3 separate regions of the Homo sapiens genome follow, and regions 1 and 3 are each linked to region 2. The links are contacts of gene promoters, found by promoter capture Hi-C in blood cells and fetal thymus (Javierre and others, 2016). All regions are on one chromosome and are shown on one strand. Each heading gives the region's core, a stretch centred on a gene start or on the middle of the fragment in contact. The rest is flanking DNA. Distances are from core to core; before and after follow the strand shown.

The links. Contacts are between HindIII fragments. The CHiCAGO score rates a contact against its expected background, and 5 or more counts as called.
Region 1: a fragment that was not itself captured here is called in contact with the fragment with the promoter of PRMT2 in region 2 in 2 of 17 cell types (naive CD8 T cells and total CD8 T cells); the score reaches 5.8 in naive CD8 T cells.
Region 3: a fragment that was not itself captured here is called in contact with the fragment with the promoter of PRMT2 in region 2 in 10 of 17 cell types (naive CD4 T cells, total CD4 T cells, naive CD8 T cells and 7 more); the score reaches 13.7 in naive CD4 T cells.

The regions. Positions count from the first base shown.
Region 1 is chr21:46,432,690-46,436,725 of GRCh38, reverse strand. It overlaps PCNT (pericentrin), which reads right to left. Exons shown (of 47, transcript NM_006031.6): 39 at 578-822. Among named protein-coding and RNA genes, the nearest start is that of DIP2A, 24 kb to the left of the region's middle. The HindIII fragment of the contact is 8,168 bases long and covers 1-4,036 here.
Region 2 is chr21:46,633,598-46,637,280 of GRCh38, reverse strand. It overlaps PRMT2 (protein arginine methyltransferase 2), which reads right to left and starts at 1,607. Exons shown (of 12, transcript NM_206962.4): 1 at 1,518-1,607; 2 at 734-842; 3 at 291-385. The coding sequence starts at 329. RefSeq lists silencers at 1,189-1,738, 1,849-2,068 and an enhancer at 1,839-2,509. The HindIII fragment of the contact is 1,501 bases long and covers 925-2,425 here.
Region 3 is chr21:46,451,793-46,455,783 of GRCh38, reverse strand. It overlaps LOC124905046 (a long non-coding RNA gene), which reads left to right. Exons shown (of 2, transcript XR_007067915.1): 2 at 1-3,991. Among named protein-coding and RNA genes, the nearest start is that of DIP2A, 5.1 kb to the left of the region's middle. The HindIII fragment of the contact is 7,328 bases long and covers 1-3,991 here.

The DNA of each region.
Region 1 (4,036 bases), core at 1,521-4,020, 200 kb after region 2:
GGCCCCGTGGCTTTCCTCTGGAATGAATGATTTAAAATGCTGTCCTAAGTGAAACTTTGCTTAGAAATCATGCTGCTCTATACATTAAGTCCAAGTATAGAAAGGAGAACTGTGTTTGCCGAGTTTCTGTGTATAGGGAAAAAGACAAACATTAGCATTACCCTTTCTGCCCATATGAAATATCACGATCGTCATCCTGGGTGTGAGTGGCCTTGAGTGACACTGGGCAGTGCCAGCGGGGGGGGGGGGGGGGGGCCACAGGAGGCTCCAAACCCGACCCTGTGGGTGGTGAGCAACTACACAGAGTGTAAAGAGAACCAAGCCAACCCTCAAAGGAACATGGAAGCCCCACGTCAGGCGTATTTTGAATCACAGGATTTTTTTCTCTGACATTAGAATATGAACATGCCATCTTGCCAATCCGGAATCCCTCAGCAAAGTCTCAGAAAGAGGACTAGAGCGTTAAGTGCAAAGGAGCAGGGGCCTCACACCAGACGCGCCCCAGCCCTCGGGCCGGGTCTGGGACAGAGGGGTGGCTGCAAGGGACCAGTGAGCGCCAGGTGGCGTGGGTGCACACCTGTCCACGGCCTGGCTGGTGAAGCTGGTGAGAAGCCGGGCGGCAGAGAGCAGCCGCTGCCTCATCGCCTCCAGCTCTCGCTGCTGTTCCCGGAGGTGGTCCGCATCCGAGCCGGCAGCCCTGCGGGCAGAACCTAGGTGGAGGCGGCTGCCAGGCACCTCGTCCTTCGACTCCAGGTCTCTCACTGTCTGCTGAAGCTGCTTGATCTTATGCAAGTCACGCTGACGCTGCAGTTCTAATTCTCGCTGTTGTTAACAGAAAAAAGACAGAGAAGACGTTCACGTCAGTGTCCAAAAACAAAACTGCCGGCCGGGCGCGGTGGTTCATGCCTGTAATCCTAGCACTTTGGGAGGCCGAGGCGGGCAGATCATGAGGTCAGGAGATTGAGACCATGCTGGCCAACACAGTGAAACCCCACCTCTACTAAAAATACAAAAAATTAGCCGGGCGTGGTGGCGGGCGCCTGTAGTCCCAGCTACTCGAGAGGATGAGGCAGGAGAATGGCGTGAACCCGGGAGGCAGAGCTTGCAGTGAGCCGAGATTGCGCCACTGCACTTCAGCCTGGACAACAGAGTGAGACTCCATCTCAAACAAAACAAAACAAAACAAAACACAAAACTGCCAGCAGGGTGTGGTGGCTCACGCCTGTAATCCCAGCACTTTGGGAGACTGCAGCAAGCGGATCACCTGAGGTCAGGAGTTCGAGACCAGTCTGGCCAACATGAGGAAACCCCGTCTCTACTAAAAATATAAAAATTAGCTGGGCGTGGTGGTGCGCACCTGTAATCCCAGCTACTCGGGAGGCTGAGGCAGGAGAATCACTTGAACCTAGAAGGTAGAGGTTACAGTGAGCTGAGATTGCGCCACTGCACTCCAGCCTGGCGACAGAGTGAGACTCCATCTACCAAAAAAAACCAAACCAAAACAAAAAAAACAACAACTGCCAAGCAAAAGCCCAAAACACACAGCCGCGTTACAGGGGAGGCCCCTCACAGACCAGAAACAGGCCCTCGGGCAGGCAGCCCCTGTGGTCCTGTACTGGGACCCACAGCTGACACACTGCACACCCTCGTGCTGTGCTGCTCTGTGTCCCTCCAGCATGGAGGCAGCTGAATCACACACCCCAGAATGATTCAGTGGTAAAAGCGTTTCCATCGTAGTTTTTAAAACTATCAGGCTTTCATCAGGCCCAGGGCAAGCACGCGGGGTCCAAAGGAGAGGAGCCTGAGAAGCTGAAACAGAACAGACCGGATGACGCTTCCCTGTGCCCTGGTCCCACTCATCCACATATGTACACGCACACGCCCAGACGCTCATACCAACATAGACACAGACAGGCACATTTGTGCATGTGAACATGCACACACGTATGAGCCTGAGTGCAGCCCTGGGGCTGAGCCTGGGTGGCCACGTGGGCCTGAGCTCCTAAGCCAGACCTCAAGGAGCAGCAGCCTTTCCTTCTGCAGGACGGGGGCACAGGCCATGTCTGGTGCCCGGGAGAAGCGTGTCAGCAAGCGCCTGAGCCCCTGCCCAGGGCCCGACTCCCACCAGGCAGGGGACAGAAGGTCTACTGCACGATGGGGCAAGGAAGGACGAAGCAGCCTCTGAAGGGCCTCTGATTCCCAGCAGCGCCGCTGGGGCTTCCTTGTGACAACACAAAGACAGATCCAGCGGGAAGAGGCCCAAGATGCAGACACACAGAGGCGGCTTGCCGTGTCAGGGAGGGAACCCCAGCACTGAGCTGAGGCCTTCCCAGCCCAGAGGACCCACAGCTGAGCCTGCACTGTGTGGCACCAGCGCCCCTGCCACTGCGGTGACCAGGGTGCAGCTCAGACTCTACCCTCCTGACAGCGCCTCACTCAATGCTCGGGCCTCTTAAACAGGAATGAGTATCTTTTCTATTTTCTAGTAAGGAAAGTAAGATACAGAGGAACTAATGAGATTGTATTATTTAGAAAAGATGGAATTGTATCCAGCATGCCACTATCTTGGGAGGCTTCCATGGCTACAGCTAGAGAAGGGTTCTATAATCCAGATCAAATTCACTATCCTCAGTAAAAAACACTCTGGAGGCCGGGCACAGTGGCTCACGCCTGTAATCCAGCACTTTGGGAGGCCAAGGTGGGCGGATCAATCACAAGGTCAGGAGTTCAAGACCAGCCTGACCAATGTGGTAAAACCCCGTCTCTACTAAAAATACAAAAATTAGCTGGGCTGGGCGTGGTGACATGCACCTGTAATCCCAGCTACTCAGGAGGCTGAGGCAGGAGAATCACTTGAACCCGGGAGGTGGAGGTTGCAGTGAGCCAAGATCGTGCCATTGCACTCCAGCTTGGAAGACAGAGCGAGACTCTACCTCAAAAAAAAAATTAATAAATAAATCACTCTGGAAGGGCCACCTCACTCAAAATACAGGTCAAGATGCATCCTGAAGCAAGCAACTTAGAAAATATTTTCTAAGCACTCATGTTACTATTTTTTTTAAGAAACAATCAAAATTAAAGGTTTTGGCTGGCAACTTCAGGCGTGGTTTCAGGAAGTTCTCAAAAAGTAAAGACTCCTTTGAGCATTCCATCAAAGGATGAGCTCTTGCCCAGGAGAAAGGCAAACACACACACCACGTCTCACCCTCAGCTGGGGTCCTGTGTAGACGCCCCTGCCATGCTTGGCCACACTGTCTGTACCACCAAACCACCTCCCTACTCTCCAAGGCTTCTGGAGATAAAAAAAACTACGACTATTCCAAAGAGTGTTTTTGTTTTTTTGAGATGGAGTCTCGCTCTTGTTGCCCAGGCTGAAGTGCAGCGGTGCAATCCCGGCTCACTGCAACCTCCGCCTTGCGGGTTCAAGCAATTCTCCTGCCCCAGCCTCCCGAATAGCTGGGATTACAGGTGCACACTACCATGCCCGGCTAATTTTTTGTATTTTTAGTAGAAATGGGCTTTCGCCTTGTTGGCCAGGCTGGTCTTGAACTCCTGACCTCAAATGATCTGCCTGCCTTGGCCTCCCAAAGTGCTGGGATTACAGGCATCGGCCACCGTGCCCGGCCTGCTCTCATCCCTTCTATTCAACATTGTTGAGTTCGTGCCACTGCACTCCAGCCTGAGTGACGGAATGAGACTCCATCTCAAAAAATAAATAAGTAAATAAATTTAACAAAAGTATAAAACTTATATTTTGAAAGCAATGAAACACTACTGAAAGAAACTAAAGAAGGCCTAAGTAAACAGCCGAGTGTGGTGGCTGACGCCTGTAATCCCAGCAGTCTGAGAGGCCCAGGCGGGCGGATCACCTGAGGTCAGAAGTTTGAGACCAGCCTGGCCAACATGGAAAACCCTGTCTCTACTAATCCAAAAATTAGCCAGGCGTGGTGGCATGTGCCTGCAGTCCCAGCTACGTGGGAGGCTGAGGCAGAAGAATTGCTTGAACCCAGGAGGCGGCGACTGCAGTGAGCTGAGA
Region 2 (3,683 bases), core at 358-2,857:
GAAAATATGCTTGCTTTGCCAGTTCACGTACCAAAAATGGAACCCTAAATGATGCTGATGTTTTGGGGCTAAGTATTTCCTTAGAATTGTTATGGTGCCCAATGCAGGATGTCACCTTACAGGCACTGCGTTTCCTCTGCCTCACAATCTTCACATTTAAGCATTCTACTGCCGGTGGCCACCTTCCAAGGCACAAGCCAAGCTCCATCACATCTGTGAGCTGACGCTTAGCTCTCTGTAATGCTCACATTCATTAAACACAGATTTTTAGGAAGTGGAACGGAAATTACCTGCGATTCACTTCTGGGACAGTCACCTGATGTTGCCATAGTTCTCTTAGGCTCTGCCTCATAACTGCTGATTTATTTCATTTTCTTTTCCATTTCTACTTTTAAAAAGAGAAGGAGACACAAAGTACTTGTTACATTGCTTAATAATTGAGTTCACTTAACTTCTAATGTGCATGATGTCCTCTACCAAATAGAAGTAAAATGTGTATGTGTGAAGATTAGTGTAGAAATGAAAATTTACAATACTTTACAGAGACAAAAGCATTTAAAAATCATAAACTTCAAATAGTGTGTTTTCTTCACTAGTCTGCAAGGTGTTAATCTTGTTCATTTGCTGAAGCCTGTTAGTTTCTGTTAGATCAGGTGTCGACTTAAGGCAATAAATCAGTATTCATTAATTTCTTAGAAGTGTGATAGCTTTAATTCCAATTAAAAGTCCCTACCTGGGACCTTACAGTGTTTCCACTAACAGGAACCAAGGTCTGCATCTTCCAGTCTTTTCCTTCTTCTCAATTCGTATTTTTCCAGTGATAGTGTAATCCACACACTGCTCTGGGATCAATGTGTTTTTAAAATTGCATAGCAATTCTTTGTTTAAAATGCATGCTTCACTTCTAAATCCAGACTTGAAGCTTATTTTTGTGATATTCGTAGTTACAAATGCTTACTGATTTGCATAATTATATTTTCATTGGAAGACCTGGGTCCAAACTGGGACGGGGTCGGAGTGGAGGCCGCAGTGCGCGCAGGACCCTGCCCTCCTAAGATGCCCTCGGGAGGAACAGGATCATGGAGGGTTGGAACAGGTGGCCAGTGAAGGGGGGTGAGAAGGGGGCAGGAAGCGAGAGGGCCACGCGTGGACGCAGGGGCACGAGAGGGTCAGGCTGGGACAGCGCCGCGAGCTTCGGGGCAGGGGCCGCCAGGCAGGTGGGCGTGGCCGCGAAGGGCGTGACAGAGATGGTGGTGGGGTGGGCGTGGCCGTAGAAGGCGCTGGACGGCGGGAGTGGCCGGGAAGGGGTGCGGCACGCAGGGAAGGGTGTGACGGGGACCGAGCTCCCGTTTGGACGCCAGGGAAAGTGGCTGAGATCGCGAAGGCGCTCGGAGGTCCCAAAAGGGGGCGGAGGCCTCTGTCCGCCAGCGACGCACACGCAGTGCGAGGACGCCTCACCTGGCCTGTCCTTCCTTACGTGCAGTCCAGCCATCTGAGCTGCCCATCAGGACACCTACCTCAATCGCGTTTCTCCGCTGAGTTCCGCGTCCACACCGCCAGCGCGGAGGGGTGGACGGTCCTTTCCAGGAGCCTGAGCCACCGCCCTCAACCCGCGCAAGCGCAGTGCACGCAGGCCGTCAGCCGGGAAGGCCCCGCCCAGGGCCCGGCGCCCCGCGCAGGCGCAGTCCTAAGACGTCCCCCATTCCAGGGAAGCCAAGCCACCGCCCTCGACTTGCGCCGGCGCGTCGCTCACAGATCGTCTGCAGCTGGGGCTGCGCCCCGCGCAGGCGCACTTCACATCTGCGCGTCCCGCGGTCTTGCGAGGCGAGGCCAGGTTCTCCATGTGTGGAGCTCGTCCCCAATCGCCCAGCCCAGCCGCGGGGTTGGGGGGCTCGGCTTGGGGTCCGACCCAGAGGGGCGCGGGGCAGGAGTCCGACCTGGGGCGGGGGGCGGGTTTGGGCCATTCACGGCTTGGGAAGCGACAACCCCTACGAGCCACAAAATGGCTGGGGCTTGGGGGACCCCCCACCTCCTCTGTCTTCCCGCAAATAATTCAGTTAACTTTCCCATCCGCGCTGCGCAGTGTGCGCCCTCTGCCTTTCTTCTGGATAAGTGGAAGCAGAATGATGACGTTTCTGTTGTGGGGAGAGGAAGTTTGGGGTTAAGGAGAAATGGGTGGCGCTAATGCCTGTAAAACATAAAATTCGAAGCCCCCCCTCCCCCGCAGCCGTCTGACTGGACTCCCTCCTTTACCAGGGGACCCTGAAGTTCAACCTGAGAGACTATTCTGGCCTCGAAGGGAAGTAAGAGTTGGACATGCCTTTTTACACTCCTCCAGCATTAACATCAAGGCAGACCTTAAGTCTGATTTAAAAAAAAAAATGTGGAAGGAAAATAAATTTGGGGGCCGCAAAATCATTAAGCTTAAAAGGAAAAGTCAAGTTGGGAACTGCTTAGGGCAAACCTGCCTCCCATTCTGTTCAAAGTCATCTCTCAGCTCACTGAGATAAATGCGTATCTGATTGCCACCTCTGGAGAGGCTAACCAGAAACTCAAGGGAATGCAATGATTTGTCTCATATTTACCTATGACCTGGAAGCTCCCTCCTGCCTTTGCTTTGAGTTGTCCCGCCCTTCCGGACCAAACCAATGTTCATCTTACATATATTGATTGATGTCTCATGTCTCCCTAAAACGTATAAAACCAAACTGTGCTCTGACCACCTTGGGCACATGTCATCAGGGCCTCCGACGGCCGTGTCATGGGCGTGCATCCTTAAATTCAGCAAAATAAACTTCCTAAGTTGACTGAGATCTGACTCAGATATTCAAGGTTCACATTTTGGTAACCACAAAGGGATTCTGAGTAGAGGTGCCACTGACCTTTGACAAATCTGTCAGTCCTTAGTACCAGCTTGAGCTATCTTTATGGCTCAAACCAATAGGACAATTTGCTGAGGCCTGGAAGCACCCCCTCCAGAGAATCCCTGATCTACCCAGATTTAGTCAAGATCTAGTTTATTTTGCTGTACAACTCCTTTTGTGTGTTGGGCGGGGGTTGGGGGGCGGGGTGTGCTTTACTCTCTTCCAACATAAGGAAGTAGTAGTTTTTTCCTGCTTCCATGACAATGGAAGGCAGGTAACTCGTTTATGGAGTTTGAGCTCGCTTCCCACAGGAAAGATGAGGGGTTTTCTTCCTCTGCTTCTAGGGTGGTAGAGAGCAATCTTCAGCCTCAGACCCATCCCTAGGAAGTAACTGAATTGGGGTTTGTCTTGGCTATTAAGATTAACAACCAGCTGGTCTTAATTTCTCCTTACCATTAGTGTGCTCAGTAACCTTATAAATTGCCCAATCCTTCGTTTCGCTTAACTGGTTTTTTTGTTGTTGTTTCTGTTTTTTGTTCTTTTGTCTTTTTCGCATTGAGTTTGACGAACTCTATCTGACTTGATCGAAACCAAAGGAAAGTTCCAAATTATGAGAAGTGAGGCCTCTGAAGTGGCTAAGTTTCAACCCCTCCCCACCACACACACACACACAAAAGGTGATGTGGTGGGGGGAGAAAAACAGCTAGCAAAAGGAAAAAGAAAAAAAAAATTTATTTTGACTACTTAAAGGGCTTTTCTTACATAACAAGGCCACATTTTTGCTAGCCAGACCAACCAAAAAGAGTAATGTCTGTCACC
Region 3 (3,991 bases), core at 532-3,031, 180 kb after region 2:
CACGGCCGGTCCCTGTGGCCGAGGCTTTCTCACAATATGATGGCTGGATTCCAAGGGCAATCTAAAGACAAAGGACAAAAGAAAGCTGTATCCTTTTTGTGAACCAGCCTCAGAAGTTGCATACCATCACTTCGGCTACTTCCTATTTGGAAGAAATGAGTCACTAAATTACCCATATTCAAAAGGAGAGGAATTAGGCTTCATCTTCTAAAGGGAAGAATATCAAAAAATTTGCCAGTATATTTTTAAAACACCACACTTGGAAAAAGCCATGGGCCATGGTAAGCAAAATTGAAATGGCAAAATTGCTATGGCAGACAGTGGTGGAAGGGAGTAAAAGGTTCAGGGGTGTGGGCATGTTGAAATTTATATACTCCGTGCATCTAGAAGACATTTGAGACGATCATATTCCACATGAAGGTGTAAATAACACGTCATTTATAAAGATCATTAGACATAGGATGATGAAAGGGGCACTGATGTCACTAAAATATTCAGTGATGGCTCATCTCTGTAGGCAAGAATGACAATAGAAAGGCTGTTCCAGAACTTGGCTGGGTGATAGCACTGGGGATGATAGGATCCTAAGACAAAAGAGGCCATTCTGGGACATAGTGGGGACCAAAGAAAAAAACCCAAGAAGCCAAAGGCAACACTTAGCTGGCAGAAGTCAGAGGATTGCAATTATAGCAGCCAGCAGGGTCTGAGTGGCAGCCAAGGGGACCTCACTTGTATGGTTATAGAACTGGTCAATAAACATGGCATCCCTGGAGGCAAAACAGGTGGGCAGCTAAGAAGGGTACTACTCAGCTGGCAAAAAAAAAAAAAAAAAAAAAAATCCATCCAGGCACGGTGGCCTGTGCCTGTAATCTCAGCATTTGGGGAAGCTAAGGTGGGAGGATCACTTGAGCCCAGGAGTTCAAGATTACAGTGAGCTGTGGTTGCACCACTGCACTCCAGCCCGGGCAATGTGGCAAGACTGTCTCAATTGAAAAAAATAAATAAAGATGCTTGTCCCAGTTTTAAAAAATCAGGATTCCATGCCCAGCTTCTGGAACTGAGCCAGTTTTCAGAAATGGAAACATTACTTGAGAGGTGGCCAAACACCAGGAAGAAGGACCTATAACAGTACAAGTACAACAGAAATGAATCCCCAGGTACTTTTCCAAAGGGTCTGATAGCAATTTCTTTTGATAACTACATCCTGGAGAAAAGTGATTAGCCAAACATTTGGAAGACTTGTGGACACAGGGTCTAAATTGATGTCCAGATGCCTAGAATATCATCCCCTTCTGTTAGAGTGGCTGCATGTGGTGGCCAGGTAATTGATGGAGTTCTGCTAAAGGTCCAGCTTACAGTGGACCCGTAGACCTAGTGGACTGATCTAGTGATATTTTCTTAGCCTTCGAGTGAGTAATTGGCATTGACATACTTGGCAGTGAATGCTCATTCCAGGTCCCTGACCTATAGAGTTAGATAACAAAATGGAAAAAGCCAAACAGAAACCTGAAACTGCCCCATCCCCTACCAAGATTATAAAACAATTATCCCAGAGCGGGAATGGCAGAGATAAGTGCCACTTCTAAGGATCCAAGTGATGTAAAGTGGTGGTTACCAACATTTTTAATTTACCAGCATGACCCCTGCAGAAGTCACAAGGATCCTGGAGAATGGCAGCCTACTCTATTTGCTGTCAACCAGTAGTTGTTTTGGGTACACTGCTGCAAACTCATCTAAGAAGTATCCCTGGCCGGGCACAGTGGCTCACGCCTGTAATCCCAGCACTTTGGGAGGATAAGGTGGGCGGAACACGAGGTCAGGAGTTCAGTCTGGCCAACATAGTGAAACCCTGTCTCTACTAAAAATACAAAAAATTAGCTGGGTGTGGTGGTGTGCACCTGTAATCCCAGCTACTTGGGAGGCTGAGGCAGGAGAATCCCATGAACCTGGGAGGTGGAGGTTGCAGTGAGCCGAGATCATGCCATTGCACTCCAGCCCAGGTGACAGTGTGAGACTCTATCTCAAAAAAAAAAAAAAAAAGTATCCGTAATAGCCTCTCTGCCAGATATGGTAGGTAGTTGTTGACTAGGTGGATTTGTTCTTTTCTGTACCTATCAGGGATCAAAAACATTTTGCATTTGCATGGAATTAAAATGCAGTTTTGCCGGAAGGTTATGTTACTTCTCTTGCTCTCTGTCGTAATCCAAAGAGATCTGGACCACCTAGACATCCTGTAGAATATTACATTGTTCCTTTACATCAGTGACATGTTGATCAGCCAGATGAGAAGTGCAGAAGATCCTGGAGACAGCTGCTCCAGAGAGTGGCATATAAACCCTACAGGAATCCAGGAGCCTGCTACAATCCTAACATTTTTAGGGCTCCAGTGGTCAGGGGTGCTCTAGGGCATCCCTTCCAAAAGCGAATGAATTATTGCTGCTTGCACCTCCTGCCGTTAAGAAAGCAAGACGCTTGTTGGTTCTCGAGCTAGTTCTTGCCTCAGGTTCTGGAGGCAGCATGTCCCACACCTGGGAGTATTGCTCTGGTCCAGAGACTAGTGGAATTGGGAGATTTCCAATTTTGGAAAGAGCCCAGAACTGGAAACGTCTGTACAGTAGATCCGGGTTGTGATGAAGTAATGCTATTGCCTGGGCCATATAGTCCAACAGGTGTTTTTTTGGTGTTATTAATGGTGCAGAATGATGCAATGTAGAGATTCTGTCATGCCACCTGGAGCAGAGAATTGTATGCATTTGGGGGGCGGGCGGGTGTAGATCTGTCTTCTGGTATGCCACTTGTCTCTGACAGAGATGGAACGCCTGACCGTAAGCCACCAGGTGACCATGCAACCAGAACTGCCTGTTAATGTTAAACTAGCAAAAGTCATAACATCAGTTGGGGCCAGCAACGGTCCCTCATAATATGGAAGTAGTATATTCAAGGTTGAGCATGAGAATGTACAGAGGTTACCAAATGAGCTGCAGAGCACAGATGCACATGACTTCCAGAACTGTTGGATCAGCCACAATGTCATTTCACACCTGTGACAGTGTGAGGGGGCCCTTATAGCCAGTTGACAGGAGTAAAAATCGTGAGCATGGTGTATAAATGGGTTGGCTCAGTATGAGTTCAAAATGAAAATAGCAGCTACATTACAGCCTTCTCAGGGGTGACCTTGAAAAATGGTGATAAGGGCATATCCTCTCAATAGGCAGAATTTCAGGCAGAGCTCCTGGTCGTCCACTTTTTTGTGGAAGAAGTAGCCCAAGGTGAGAATATACATGGAGCCATGGGCAATGCTAGAGGGCCTGGGTAACTGGTTAAGGGCCTGGAAGGAAAACAATCGGAAGTTGGAGATAAGGAGGTGTGTGGTAGATTTATGTGGTCAGATAAATTGGAATAGCACGAAGTACAATGTTCTTTGTATACAATGTTAATGCCCACCAGAGAGCATCCATGAAAGAAGCATTATACAACCAAGTAGACAGTTGACTCAGCCAGTTGATATTGGACAGCATCTTTTATTGGCTACTGTACTACTGGCATGATGGGCACATGGACAAGGTAGCCAAGGTGATGGACGCTGTTCATGGGCCTGACAGCAACCCATGCTCTCTACCCAGCTTTGGTTAATATCTAGCTGCCCCTGAATATCTAACCTGCCAGCAAAAGAGATCTACCCGGCTTTGGTTAATATCTAGCTGCCCCTAAATATCTAACCTGCCAGCAAAAGAGACCAGTGCTATACTCCCATTGTGGGTCACTTCATCAAGGAGCACAAACATCCAGGTTTACAGAGGTCTTTAGACATAGTCCCCATTTTATAAGGAGAGTTTACTGTATTGGAACTCTCCCATCCTGGAAGGGCTGGTGGTTCACTTTTCACAAGAATAGTCTCATATTCCAGATACGAGGCTTGTCTTTTCCTACTCACAAGTGTCAGCCAGAAAGGCTTAAGGAGTGTTTGTTTCACTGACATAAGCACACAACA